Linked DNA regions of Homo sapiens: region 1 is linked to region 2. The links are contacts of gene promoters, found by promoter capture Hi-C in human tissues and cell types (Jung and others, 2019). All regions are on one chromosome and are shown on one strand. The core of a region is centred on a gene start or on the middle of the fragment in contact, and the rest is flanking DNA. Distances in the headings are between cores, read along the strand shown. Region 1 overlaps ANKFY1 (ankyrin repeat and FYVE domain containing 1). Region 2 holds the start of USP6 (ubiquitin specific peptidase 6).

The links. The method cuts DNA at HindIII sites, captures the fragments that hold promoters and counts their contacts. A contact is called where the count stands out against the background at its distance.
Region 1: a fragment that was not itself captured here is called in contact with the fragment with the promoter of USP6 in region 2 in 1 of the 25 tissues and cell types used here (pancreas).

The regions. Positions count from the first base shown.
Region 1 is chr17:4,253,938-4,260,497 of GRCh38, reverse strand. All of the region lies in intron 1 of ANKFY1 (ankyrin repeat and FYVE domain containing 1), which reads left to right. Among named protein-coding and RNA genes, the nearest start is that of ANKFY1, 6.8 kb to the left of the region's middle. The HindIII fragment of the contact is 5,645 bases long and covers 1-5,239 here.
Region 2 is chr17:5,113,612-5,120,774 of GRCh38, reverse strand. It overlaps USP6 (ubiquitin specific peptidase 6), which reads right to left and starts at 4,743. Exons shown (of 38, transcript NM_001304284.2): 1 at 4,035-4,743; 2 at 2,485-2,575; 3 at 1-148. It overlaps ZNF232-AS1 (ZNF232 antisense RNA 1), which reads right to left. Exons shown (of 3, transcript NR_135658.1): 3 at 6,393-6,617. It also overlaps a transcript of ZNF232 not described here. The HindIII fragment of the contact is 4,107 bases long and covers 4,058-7,163 here.

The DNA of each region.
Region 1 (6,560 bases), core at 1,168-3,667, 860 kb after region 2:
TGCAGATGTGCATGCCACCACATTGGCTAATTTTTGTATTTTTTGTAGAGTTGGGGTTTTGTGATGTTGTCCAGGCTGGTCTTGAACTCCTGGGCTCAAGCCATTCACCTGCCTGGGCCTCCTGAAGTGCTGGGATTACAGGTGTGAGCCACCGCTCCCAGCCCTAAGCTTCGTTTGTAAGTGAACTACTTCAAAAGGTTCCAATTAAAAGTTTGCTTTTAACTTTTCCTCCTAGATTTTGCTCTCTCACAGCCTAATTTCACAGTTTCTAGTGTTCCCTTTAAGACATCAATCAGATCATGTCTCTCCTACTCTTCTTAATACTCCTGCCCCTCAATGCCCAACTCTCACACTTCTCCGTAATCTTAAAATATATTCCAGTTCTCTGTTAAGTATTAACAGGGTGTGGGCCCCACTTAACACTTCGAGCTTATTTCCTACTTTCATTCACTGTGCCCCTGCCACACTGACTTTTTTGCGTTCTTTGTGTGTGCCCGACATGCTGCTACCTCTGCGTCTTTGTCCCTGCAGTTTCCTTGGCCTGGAACAGTCCTCCGCTGTTTCTCCACACAACTGACCCACTTTATTCACTCAGTGTCTGTTCAGTTGTCATCTCATTAGAGAGCATCCCTCACTGGAATATAAACCCCATGAGGGCAGGAACTTGGTCTGTTTTGCTCACTCCTGTATCTCCCAGCTTAGAATCATGGCTGTGGTTGAAGGAATGTATGAATTTATTGAGCATCACCTGCTAGCCATCAAGAAAAGTTGCCTGGATACATCCTTAGCCTCTTGTCAAGCAAACTGGCTGGTCCACCTTTTATTATACTCTGCATAACCTAAGTCTGCTAGGAGCTACCTAACCTACTTTTCATCCAGCCCATTTTTGTTTTAGCAACTAAAATACAATGTTTAAGGCCGGGCACGGTGGCTCACGCCTGTAATCTCAGCACTTTGGGAGGCCAAGGTGGGCGGATCACTTGAGGTCAGGAGTTCCAGACCAGCCTGACCAACATGGTGGAACCCCATCTCTACTAAACATACAAAAATTAGCCAGGCATGGTGGCATGTGCCTGTAATCCCAGCTGCTCAGGAGACTTGAGTCAGGAGAATCACTTGAACCCGGAAGGTGGAGGTTGCAGTGATCCGAGATCGCGCCACCGCACTCCAGCCTGAGCAACAGAGACTGTCTCAAAAAATAATAATAATAAAATAAAATGTAGTGTTTAAGAGCTCAGACTCTGCAGCTGGACATGGATTTAAATCCTAGTTTAAGCTGTGATCATAAGCAAGTCAATTAATTGCTGTCAGTCTCAGTGTCCTCAGCTTTAAAAGGGGGATCATCTGTAGCTCACAAGTAGCTGTGGGAATCCTAGGATATTTCTCAGTTGCAGGAAGAGCCTTTTTCCACAGCGCCTAATGTTTCTTCCACAGCGACTGATGCTTTTCCCACAGCGCCTGATGCTTTCACCCTGGTGCACAGTCTTTCTCTTGAGTCTCCTCTAAAATCACTCTCCATTTCTTTTCCTCAGTAAAAGTAAAAATTGAAAAAAATGTAATTTTTTTGTAAATAGTATATTGAACAGAAAATTTATCATAAACTTTTGTTAGCTTGATGGAATTTGATCAGAAAAATACTTTTGACAACAACCCAAGCAAAATGGGGAAAACATTCCATGTCCTGGGTATTCATTGACCAACACAATAGTCACTAGCCACATGTGGCTACTTAAATTTGATTAAAATTAAATAAAATTTAAAATTAACTTCTCAGTTGTACTAGTCCTATTCCAAGTACTCAGTAGCCATGTGGCTAGTAGCTCCCCCTAATGGACAGCACAGATTAATAGAACACTTGCACCATTGCCAGAAGTGCTTTGGATAGTCCTGTTCCAGAAAATGCTTCATTAGTGGAGGCTGGTAGAAATAAGGAAAGAAGGAACTTTGCTGTTTCCACTTTTTTTTTTTTTTTTTGAGTTGGAGTCTGGCTCTGTCTCCCAGGCTGGAGTGCAGTGGTGCGATCTCGGCTCACTGCAAGCTCCCCTCCCAGGTTCACACCATTCTCCTATCTCAGCCTCCCGAGTAGCTGGGACTACAGGCGCCCGCCACCAAGCCTGGCTAATTTTTTGTATTTTTGGTAGAGATGAGGTTTCACCGTGTTAGCAAGGATGGTCTTGATCTCCTGACCTCGTGATCCGCCCGCCTCGGCCTCCCAAAGTGCTGGGATTACAGGCGTGAGCCACCGCGCCCGGCCCTACTTCTGAAATTTATCTGTTTATTGTTTTACTTATTGAACAAATGTCCCAGGTCATTGATAATTATATATAGTCCAGAGACCTCTTAAGGACTGTTCCTTTTATACCATTCTTTTCTTTTCTCTCCCTTTCCTGGTGACTACTGTCACCAGCTGTAGCTGTTAGCTTTCTCCTTGTGAATTATTTTTACTGAGAAATAAAATTTATCCATTAGTGGTTATGTCAAAGTAAAGCTACTGAATTGTGCTGAGATACACAGGATTCTGTCACTGGCAAGGTGATTTGCTGTAGGCAATTTGAGATACTATCATGATTTACAGCCTTGCTGAACCAAATGAGAAATTGCTATGTCCCCAGAATCTCCTGTTGAACCTGTGGTATTTATTGAACTCCATCTGGTAAGGTACTGTCGGGAGGAGGAGATAACCATGGAATGGGTATAGAGGGAGAAGTAATTGATAGTTAAATACGAATAGCCAGAACTAAAGCTTATTCACAGGGAGTTCTGAAGTCTAGGAGGGGAGATAAAAGAAATTGTATATGAGAAACTATATTTTAAGGTGAAGGGTAAAAAATGCTTAGGAGTTACTTTGAAAACTCAGGGAGAGATTTTTTAAGGAAGTAATGGGGAATGTATTTTGGATAATCAGGGAAAGTCTTGTTGCAGGAGACATTGCTTGAACTGAGCTTTGAAAAATGGCCCTCCTTTGGACATGGGGACATGAGATTGAGGAGAGGTCACTGTTCTAGGTGGAAGGAATTAGTGGGATGTGAAGTTGGAAGAGTATGTTAAGGGCCAGATTATTAAGGGCATTGGTTCAGCATTTGGATTTTATTCTGAGACTCATGGAGCGATACTACCGAAAGGAATCAGCCACGGTAGCGACAGAACAGGAATTGTGTGAGGCATGGCGAAATGACTGCAGTGTAGAGGATGGATTGGGAAGAAAGGAAGTCAGAGAGCAAGCTGTAGCAGTTGATGGTGAGCCATTTGGTAGAGGCTGTGGGGCTGGTGAGGACTGATGGGAGAAAGACCACAGAACGTATGAAAGACAGGACTTTTGAAACCTGGTTGAATGTTGATGAGAGAGAATCAAAGATGACTCAAGTTCTAGGTCTGGATGACTCAGACAAATGGCTGAGCTGCTAAGAGGTAGAGGAGGAATAGATTGGAGAACAAGTATTTTGACCTCACTTTTGGACATATTTGCTTTGCCCAGTATACTTCTATGTGGTGATGTCTAAGTTGGAAGTGTTTCCAGTCAGGAGTTTGGGGTGGAAATGGCTAGTTAGCTAATATTTGTTATGCATCTCTTATGAAACCAGCCCAATTGTCACTGCTATACACGGTGAGCTTTTGAAAGATGTGTAAGTCATGCCACCAACTGTAACATGAGGCAGACGAACCTAGCAGAGTTGAATTGCATTCAGGAAAAACGTATTTCACGGTAGGTGCAAGCTACTGTGCCAGAGATGACAAAATGAGCAAGACACAACCTTAACCTTAATGGAACTTGCAGAACAGAGAGGGGAAGGCAAAGTATTTCAAATAAGCATGCATGTTGCTTTCTAGTTATACCAGGTTTTCTCTTCTATATTCATGATTAATGGCACTACTTTTCAGCCAGACTCTCAAGTCAGTCACCAAAAAGTTATCTCCGACTCCCCCCAAGATCTGCATCAGTCACCAAATCCCCCGGATGCTGTACACCTCTCACATCTGTGCTTTCCTCTCTCCCTCGTTCCATTAGTACATAGTTCTCAACCTGGAGAACCCTGCACAGTACAGTTAACCTGGGAGTTTTTTCTTTTTTTGAGATGGAGTCTCGCTCTATTGCCCAGGCTGGAGTGCAGTGGTGCGATCTCAGCTCACTGCAGGCTCCACCTCCCGGGTTCACGCCGTTCTCCTGCCTCCGCCTCCTGAGTAGCTGGGACTACAGGCGCCCGCCACTGCGCCTGGCTAATTTTTTGTATTTTTAATAGAGACGGGGTTTCACTCTGTTAGCCAGGATGGTCTCGATCTCCTCAGTTCGTAATCCGCCCGCCTTGGCCTCCCAAAGTGCTGGGATTACAGGCATGAGCCACCGCGCCTGGCCACCTGGGAGCTTTTAAACATCCATATTTGTGGGCTGGGCGTGGTGCCTCACACCTGTAATCCCAGCACTTTGGGAGGCCGAGGCGGGCAGGTCACAAGATCAGGAGTTTGAGACTAGCCTGAGCAACATGGTGAAACCCCGTCTCTACTAAAAATACAAAAATTAGCCAGGCTTGGTGGTGCACTCCTGTAATCCTAGCTATTCGGGAGGCTGAGGCAGAAGAATTGCTTGAACCTGGGAAGCGGAGGTTGCAGTGAGCTGAGATCGCGCCATTGCACTCCAGCTTGGGCGACAAGAGTGAGACTCCGTTTCAAAAGAAAAAAAAAAAAGAAAAGTAGTAGTGGTGGTAATTAATCACCAGTGAAGAGCTTTTCTAATCTGATGCCAAGGAAGATAGTATTTTCTGGGAAGCTGACACTTTAATGAAATATTTTTTTGTGGAAGATCCTAATATAAGCCTGGAACAAAAAATTATTCTTGTAGTTCTCCAAATAGAATGTTATCACAGCCTTTACAATCATTTCTCTTTTATCTAATGGACATAGTTAAAGCAGAATAGGTATAAAGTCATTTAGTCATTAAAGAATTACATGAAGAGACTGGGCACGGTGGCTTATGCCTGTAATCCCAGCACTTTGGGAGGCCGAGGCCAGGGGATCACCTCAGGTCAGGAGTTCAAGACCAGCCTGGCCAACATGGCGAAATCCTGTCTCTGCTAAGAATACAAAAAAATTAGCTGGGCATGGTGGCAGGCGCCTGTAATCTCAGCTGCTTCAGGAGGCTGAGGCAGGAGGATTGCTTGAACCCGGGAGGCAGAGGTTGCCATGAGCCAAGATCACACCATTGCACTCCAGTCTGGGCGACAAGAGAAACTCTTGTCTCAAAAAAAAAAAAAAAAAAAAAGAATTACATGAAGAACACTAATTCATTGCTAAAGTTTTGGCTAGAATAGAAGAACTATAGGAGTGTAGAGAAAGGAAATGCCAGGGTGATGTGAATCTAGAAAGACTGAATACAGTGTGGGTTAGAACTGGAGTGGCTGGAGGGGAGTAGAGTGCATTTACTATAGGAAATGAAGGAGCTCATTTAATTCCTGGATTAATTAATGACTAATCTTGGTGTTCTGATACTGGAGCTGAAATCTGGCATCATGGTGTTAATGGGATGCGTTCTGGCTTAAGACCACAAATCTTGAGTCTGTCTTCTGCTAATTGTGTGATTTTAGGCAACTCACTTAAGTGAGTTTCACTGTTAGTATATTACTTTTTCAATATAGTTAGAATCTGAGATGATGAATGTGAAGAACTTAACTGCCATAGGAGACATAAAAAATATTAATTCCCACTTTCTGTCTTATTGCAAAATATTACAGGAAAGTGTACATTTCCTTTTACTCCATAGAATGATGTTGACACTAATCTAGCAAAAAGTTACTAGGGCATTAAAATCTTTTACTATACAGAATTTTTTGTTTGTAAGTATAGGTGTTTTAGTTTCATGTGGCTGCTGTAACAGATTTCCACAAGCTAGATGGCTTAAAACAACAGAAACGTGTTCTTATGATTCTGGATGACAGAAGTCTGATTGAAATCAGTATCACTGGGCTCAAATCAAGGTCTCAGTAGGGCCCTATTCCCTCTGGAGGCTCTAGGAGAAAATCTTTTTCCTGATTCTTCCACCTGCAAGAGGCTGCTGACATTCCTTGGCTATTGGCTGCATCATTCCAGTCTTCAAGGACAGCATCTTCAAATTTCTCTCTGTTCTGTGTTCACAAGACCTACTCTGAGTGGGTCAGACTCCCTCTGTGCCTTCCTTTTTTTTTTTTTTTTTTTTTTTTTTTTTTGAGATGGAGTCTCACTCTGTGGTCCAGGCTGGAGTGCAGTGGTGCGATCTTGGCTCATTGCAACCTCCGCCTCCCAGGTTCAGGCGATTCTCCTGCCTCAGCCTCCCGAGTAGCTGGGACTACAGGCGCCTGCCACCACACCTGGCTAATTTTTGTATTTTTAGTAGAGATGGGGTTTCACCGTGTTAGCCGGGATGGTCTTGATCTCCTGACCTCGTGATCTGCCTACCTTGGCTTCTCAAAGTGCTGGGATTACAGGCGTGAGCCACCGCGGCCAGCCCCTGCTCCCTCTTACAAGGATACATGAACAGTTACGTGCTGCATAATGATGTTTTGGTCAATGCAGAGACACTTAGTTGTTGTTGT
Region 2 (7,163 bases), core at 3,494-5,993:
AGCCCTTGGCATCCTTGTAGCTCTTCTCCACCAATTTCTTGTCCTGGTCATGCATCTCATTCAGGATCCAGCTCAGGTTCACTCCAGGCACAGTGTCCATCTTCACACTGACATCCTCATCCACCTGACCTCAAAGGGCCTTCATTTCCTGGGCAGAGAGGACAGCAGGAGCTCACCCAAGGCCATCCTGGGGAAAGACCCTGGGGCCTGCCTTCTTTCCCTCGGAGAGACAGGTGCAGATGACAGACAGACAGACAGACAGACACAGATAGGCCAACAGCTCCTCACCCTGAAGGTGGAGGTGGATATTGTCATTACTCAAACATACAGGGCTATGAATATCAGCAACCTCCCACAACACACACTGTGACTCGGGACTGGACTTCACCCATCCCCAACAAGTGCTAAGCCCTGAGAGATAACAACCCCCCAGCACAGTGGAGGATGACCACAGGCGACCTCACTCACTGCCCTGACCTTGCCCCCACCACTGCCTTGCCCCCACCACCAACCCCACAGCACAGGCATGCAGAGAGCAACCCTACGTTGGTGTCACCGTGCCAGGCCCCATTAGCAAATGTTAATCTGCTGGAGGAAAGCAATGTATAACCAGCCTCAAAGCCAGGGGGAAACACCTTCCGGGTGTCCTGCTTCTTGGGGAGTAGGCTTCCCCAGCTTAGAGCAGCACAGAACTCGGCTGAGAAGGAAGCCACAGGAGAGGGCACGTAAGGCCTCCTGACTGCCCCGGCAGGACCTTGGATCTCTATCCTTGGGTTGAGCCTTGGAGTTCCTGGGACCTAGAACCTTCTGGAAAGGAGAGGCAGGAGAGGGGGCAGAGAGGTGGGGTGGATACAAGTCCGACAGACCTGAAGGAGGGGTCCCTGTGCAGCCGTAGATAAATCCCTTAACCTCTCTGAGCTTCAGTTTCTTCACGGGTCAAAAGGAAGAAAGAGTATCTTTCTCCCAGCTGTTTATCAGCTGAGATGATGGCTGTGAGTCACTTGTAGTGCTGGGCAGAAGTTCCTTGTTTTAATGACTATCACTATTATAATTAATTATAATAATTAGCATTGTGTGTTCTTACACTGAGTTACTCATTAGTTAGTTAACTGCAGTGAGCTGAGCCTCAAGGGACAAATGAAGTCTATTTGGGAAGAGGGGCTCCTCCAGGCCTCACCCAGGGTCCTCTGAGGGTCAGGGCTAGGCATCCATAAAAGATGGGAACTGGACTGGAAGCATGGCCCAGCCCAGGGGGTTTCTGGGCCCCAGCCTCGCTTGCTTCCAGGTGAATTTCTGCTGCATTCCCTGAGCTGACCTCACTTTAGTGGGGGCTGAAGAAGGACAAAAGAGTTAATTTTCAGATAATCAGGTAATTCATGAAATAAAAGCCCACCTATTCAAAGCTTTTATAGGTAGCAGAAGCTAATGTAGTAATGTCCAATTTGTAAACCTGAATTCCACAAAATAAAACCTACCTGTTAGGGAGCAGTCTACTTTGGAACTTTGAGAAAAGAGCCTAAATGATCAAAGTTTGCCTTCATAAGATTTTAAACAGCTAAAGAACCAAACTCCAAGAGGACCAAAACTGAGAAAAAGTCAGAGTCTGATAATCTCTTTGAGGAAGAGGGGTGATTGGAGTGTGGCTTAGGAGAGGTTTCTTCATATAAATACTTGATAGTGATAGAGGCAGGACATGAAGTTGAGAAATTCTAAGCAGATGTGGCAGGCCCCCAGTGAAACCCCATCTTTGAGCCGAAAAGCCTGAAACCCACAGCCCAAAGTGAGAACTTCTATTCCTGTTTGCTTACTCCCTCCCGATTGGTTCTTTCTGAATAATGTCTTCTTACCAATCAAATGTTGCCTTTTCCAAAAATACCTATGGCTGCCCCACCCTCATCCTGTGCCTATAAAGACCCCAGACTCAGTCAGTAGATGAGAGAGATGGCCAGACTTTCGGGAAGAAATGGCCAGACTTTGGGGAGAAGATGACCTGCCCTTTCTACCCCCTCTCTAGCTCCCCTCTCCGCTGAGAGCCACTGTGATCACTCTGTAAAATTCTCCACCTTCACCATCCTTCAAGTGCTCCACACAACCTCATTCTTTTTGGATGCCAGACAAGAGCTTGGGACCCACCAAGTTTGGCTACCCAAAAGGCTGTCACACTCACCCTTTGCCCTCACCAGTGGCAGGTAGCCACCCCACGCAATGGGGCTAGGGGCCAGCTGAGCTGTTAACACATACCCATCCTCAAACAGTGGCGCTAAGAGAGCACTGTAACACTCCCTCTGGGGATTTGGGATCACAGGCACCCCCACTTGGGCAGCACCGCAGACCCCAAATGGAGCTTGCTCCTGCAGCTGCCCAGAGCAGCCAGCTAGATCCTGCAGTCGTTTGCTCATGCCTGGTCTGGTCACAGGCTCCGCAAAGAGCTTGCTCATGCTGGTGCCTGTAGTGGCCAGCCAGATCCTGCACTTGCTCACTCACCTGCACACTCCTGCAAGAGGTTGAGCACAGTGGGCTGAGTAAACAGGGCACCCCTGTCTTGAGTCCCACGAAGGAATCAAGGAAAAAAATCCTGTATCAATAGGAAATAAGACTGTCACTACCATCCCTGAGGGAGAGAGCACATGACTATGGTAGAATAAGTGAATGCTAGCCAGTAATCTGCCAATATAGTCCACTTGTCTTGATTTTTTTTTTTTTTTTGAGACGGAGTCCCACTCTGTTGCCCAGGCTAGAGTGCAGTGGCATGATCTCGGCCCACTTCAATCTCCGCCTCCCAGGTTCAAGTGATTCTCCTGCCTCAGCCTCCTGAGGAGCTGGGAGGAGCTGGGATTACAGGTGCATGCCAGTACACCCAGCTAACACCATGTTAGCCAGCCTGGTCTTAAACTCCTGGTGATCTGCCTGCCTTGGCCTCCCAAAGTCCTGGGATTACAGGTGTGAGCCACCCCACCCGGCCTCACTTGTCTTGATTTTTAATGCCCTTAGAGTGAGGCCACCATCATCTCTTGCTTGTACTATTATCGCAGCCTCCTAACATGCCTCCCTGATTCCAACGCTTCTCTACAGGGCAGCTGGAATGTTCTTCCTTCAGAACAAATCTGATAGTGCCATCCCCCTCTCTAAATTTCCACAGTGATTTCCCACTAACTTCAGCCTGAAGTCCAAAGTCCTTATTGTGACATATATATTCTGATGCGACCCCATTTATTCACTTGTGCTGTAAATATTTATTGAGCTTTTTTTTTTTTTTTTTGAGACGGAGTCTCGCTCTGTCGCCCAGGCTGGAGTGCAGTGGTGCAATCTCAGCTCACTGCAACCTTTGCCTCCCGGGTTCAAGTGATTCTCCTGCCTCAGCCTCCTGAGTAGCTGGGATTACAGGTGTGTGCCTCCACACCCGGCTAATTTTTGTATTTTTTGTAGAGAGGGGGTTTCACCATGTTGGTCAGGCTGGTCTCAAACTCCTGACCTCATGATCCACCCGCCTCGGCCTCCCAAAGTGCTGGGATTAGAGGCTTGAGCCCCCTCGCCCAGGCTTATCGAGCTTTTAATATGTGTTAAGCAGCGGGTGCTACAAAGCAGGGTGAGCATAAATGGACAAGTCTCTGGCCTGATGGAACTTATAATTGTAGAAGAGAAACTAATTAGAATCATTAATAAAGTTGCAACCATAAGTGCCAAAAAGGAGAGGCATATGATACTACAGTGGGGAGTCTCACCTAGCTGGGGAAGGCTTTCTGCAAAGTACTTACCTTTCCTTCCTATTATTTACCCATGAACTCTCTGCAGTTCCCCAAGAATGTAGGCACCGCCCTCTTGCCCTGTGGCCTTTCCACGAGCTGTTCCCTCTGTGAAGATTGCTCCCTCCGTACCTAGCTCCATCACTTTTCAGTACTTGCTATGTGTTGGGTACCGTGATAAGCACTTACCATCAATTTTCTCTTGTATTTACCTCAGTGAGTGCAACTGTTAACCCTGTTTTATACATAAGAAACTACGCTCTAGAAAGGCAAATTTGCCCAAAGACTCACAACTAGTAAGTGAAGAAACGAATTCAAATTCCGGTCGGCCCGACTCGAAAGCGGTCTTGGCGGTACAGTCTTGGGTCTCCCAGTTCCTTCCTGTTCAGGCCTCACGTATCTGCCCGCCTTTCCTGACAGACCCCTGGTGAGGGTCTAGTGCCTCCACGGGCCACGGCCATCGTAAGGCAGCAACTGTAACTTGTCGCCCGCCCCACTAGGCTGAGCTCTTCCCGGACAGGCACTGGCCTTTTCCCTTTCGTCGGCTCAGTGACTCCAGGTAGACGCCCCTCAGACACCACACGAGACGGCGGCTCACATGGGCCAGAAGTGTTTCCCCTCTCCCCCAGCGGCTTGTCTAGGAAAACATGAGGACTCGGTTCGACTCGATGGTGCGGGCCTAAGCCCCGGGAAGCCGGGAGTGGTGAGGCGGGCCGCCGGGAGCGGGGCCGGGAGTGGTGAGGGGGGCCGCCCGGAGCGGGGCCGGGAGTGGCGTCGAGCAGAGAGCCCGCAGGCGGGAAGTCCTCTCAATGAGCGTCTCGAGCGCTGCCCGCGGCCCCTCCTGACTGCTAGTTGGAGCGGGGACAGCATGGGCGCGGCCGCCAAGGTAGCGTCGAGTGAGGGGAAGACTGATGGGCGCCTGGAGACGAGCTCCCACAGCGGCCACGCATTTGGAGCTGGGCGTCGGGGCCCGCCCGTCCCGCCGCGCCGCTAGCTGTCCCCTCTGCCTGGCCTCCGTGCCTTGCGCCCCTTTGTGCCGTCCAGCCCTACAGCTTTGAGGCCCTTTCGGCGCACGCACCCCGCCCCGATCCCCCGGCGCTATCCCAGCCTTGACGGCCGGGGAGGCTTTCCCTAGCCCGGCGCCTCGAGGACCGCCTCAGTGGCCAAAGGCGGCGCGGGGTGCGCCCGGGCTGTGTCCCCGGGAGGCTGGACCGCCAGTCCGCGCATGAGGCCATCTGTGAGGCACGAGTGCAGGAGAGTGAAGGAGACCGGGGCGTGCTGAGTAGGGACCTCCCTCAGTGACTGGAAGGTTATTCATGGGGCCTTCTGACACTCTAAAAACGAAATTTCTCCGGGGTTTGATGAGTATCAGGGTGGTGGCTTCTTGAGTTTTGAGCAGGCATCACAAATCAATCCCTCTGGAATACAGAACTGCCTCTGTTCCGTTTTGGGTTTTGTGTGTGTGTGTGTGTGTGTTTTTGGAGACGGAGTCTTGCTCTGTTGCCCAAGCCGGAGTGCAGTGGCGCCATCTCGGCTCACTGTAACCTCCGCCTCCCGGGTTAAAGCTGTTGTCCCGCCTCAGCCTCCCGAGTAGCTGGGATTACAGGCGCCCCCCACCACGCCAGGCTAATTTTGTATTTTTAGTAGAGAGAGGGTTTCACCATGTTGGCCAGGCTGGTCTTGAACTCCTGACCTCAGGTGATCCACTGGCCTCGGCCTCGCAAAGTGCTGGAATTACAGGCACGACCCACCACATCCGGCCCTCTGTTCCTTGTTTCGAAATAACTCAATTAAAAGTCAGAGGCTCACTGGCCACATCTCCTTCCACCCACCCACCGCCCCACCCCCCAAAAGATGCCTCTAGCAAATAAAATGAGACGTCCTGATGCCTTCCTGGCTCGTTCCAGAATTTTTAGCTTTGACTTTTGACGTGGGGTCCTTCTACCTAAAGTCCCCGCCGTCACATCAGCCCCCAGTTTTCCTCTGTCTTAGCTCGGGCTGCCGTAACAAAATACCATAGACTGGATGCCAGACAACAGAAATTTATTTTCTCAGTTTTGGAGGCTGCAAGGCTGTGACCAGGGCCCAACATGGTCAGGTTCTGGTGAGAGCTCCCTGGCTGCCTTCTCACAGGGTCCTCACATGGCAGAGAGAGAGGGACCCAAAGCCCTCTGGTGTCTTTTTTGTTTGTTTGTTATTTTTTGGGACGGAGTCTCACACTGCTGCCAGGCTGGAGTGCAGTGGCCCGATCTCGGCTCACTGCAACCTCCACCTCCCAGGTTCAAGTAATTCTCCAGCCCCAGCCTCCCAATTAGCTGGGATTACAGGCACCCACCACCACACCCGGCTAATTTTTGTATTTTTAGTAGAGAGGGGCTTTCACCATGCTGGCCAGGCTGGTCTCGAACTCCTGAGCCCAGCTGATCCACCCGCCTCGGTTTCCCAAAGTGCTGGGATTACAGGCGTGAGCCACTGCGCCTGGCCAGAACTCAGTCCTTACAGAACATCAGAGAATCCATACAAGGTGAGAGAGAGGCCTTATAAATGCATTGGGTGTGGGAAAGATTTGAAGGGGAGCTCACAACTTATTCAGCATCAAAGAATTCACAGTGGAAAGAAACTTTGTGAATGCAATGAATGTTCAAAGACTTGTAATCAGAGCTCACACTTTATTCGACATCATAGAATTCATAGTGGAGAAAAGCCCTATGAATGTGACAAGCATGGGAAAGCCTTCAGATGGAGCTCAGACCTTGTGAGGCATCTGGAAATTCATATTGGAGATAAAGTTTTGGAATGTAGCGAGCGTGGAAGAATTTTCAATCAGAGCTCAGGTCTAATGCAGCACCAAAGAAACCATACAGAATCATAACCCTAGGAAGACAGTAATGATAAAGATGTCAGTATGTACATATAGGAAGAGAGAAGGAGAGTTTGTTTTTGTCCTAACTATTTGGAAAATTGTAAGCTTCCTAAGAGCAATTTTCATCTGATTCAGTGTATAGTACTTAGTCTCAGGTCATGTGCAGATATGTCCTTCCCAAATGCTTACCACAAGATAAATCAGAAATCTTGACTGGAATAAGCTTCTAGTTCCTTTGCTTTATCATGAGAGGTTCCACACCACAGGAAAATCTTGTAAATGGTGGAAGCTGCATAAAGCACCATCATCATCACAAAATGGTGTCCTTGTGTGTCCTGTTTAGCAGCACCGAGAATCTAATAGCTTTCCCCTTGTCTGTTTTTCCTTACTATGAATTGTGCCAGGGGAACAGTAAAATGGGTATGATATCCTGAACTCTAGGGTGGATGTCTTTCTGGGACAGAATCTAATCCAAAAGTCTGCAAATGGACTTGAGGTTTTCACATTAGTATAAATGTCAATATGTAGTTTAGGGAATTTGCCTTATTCCTCCATTC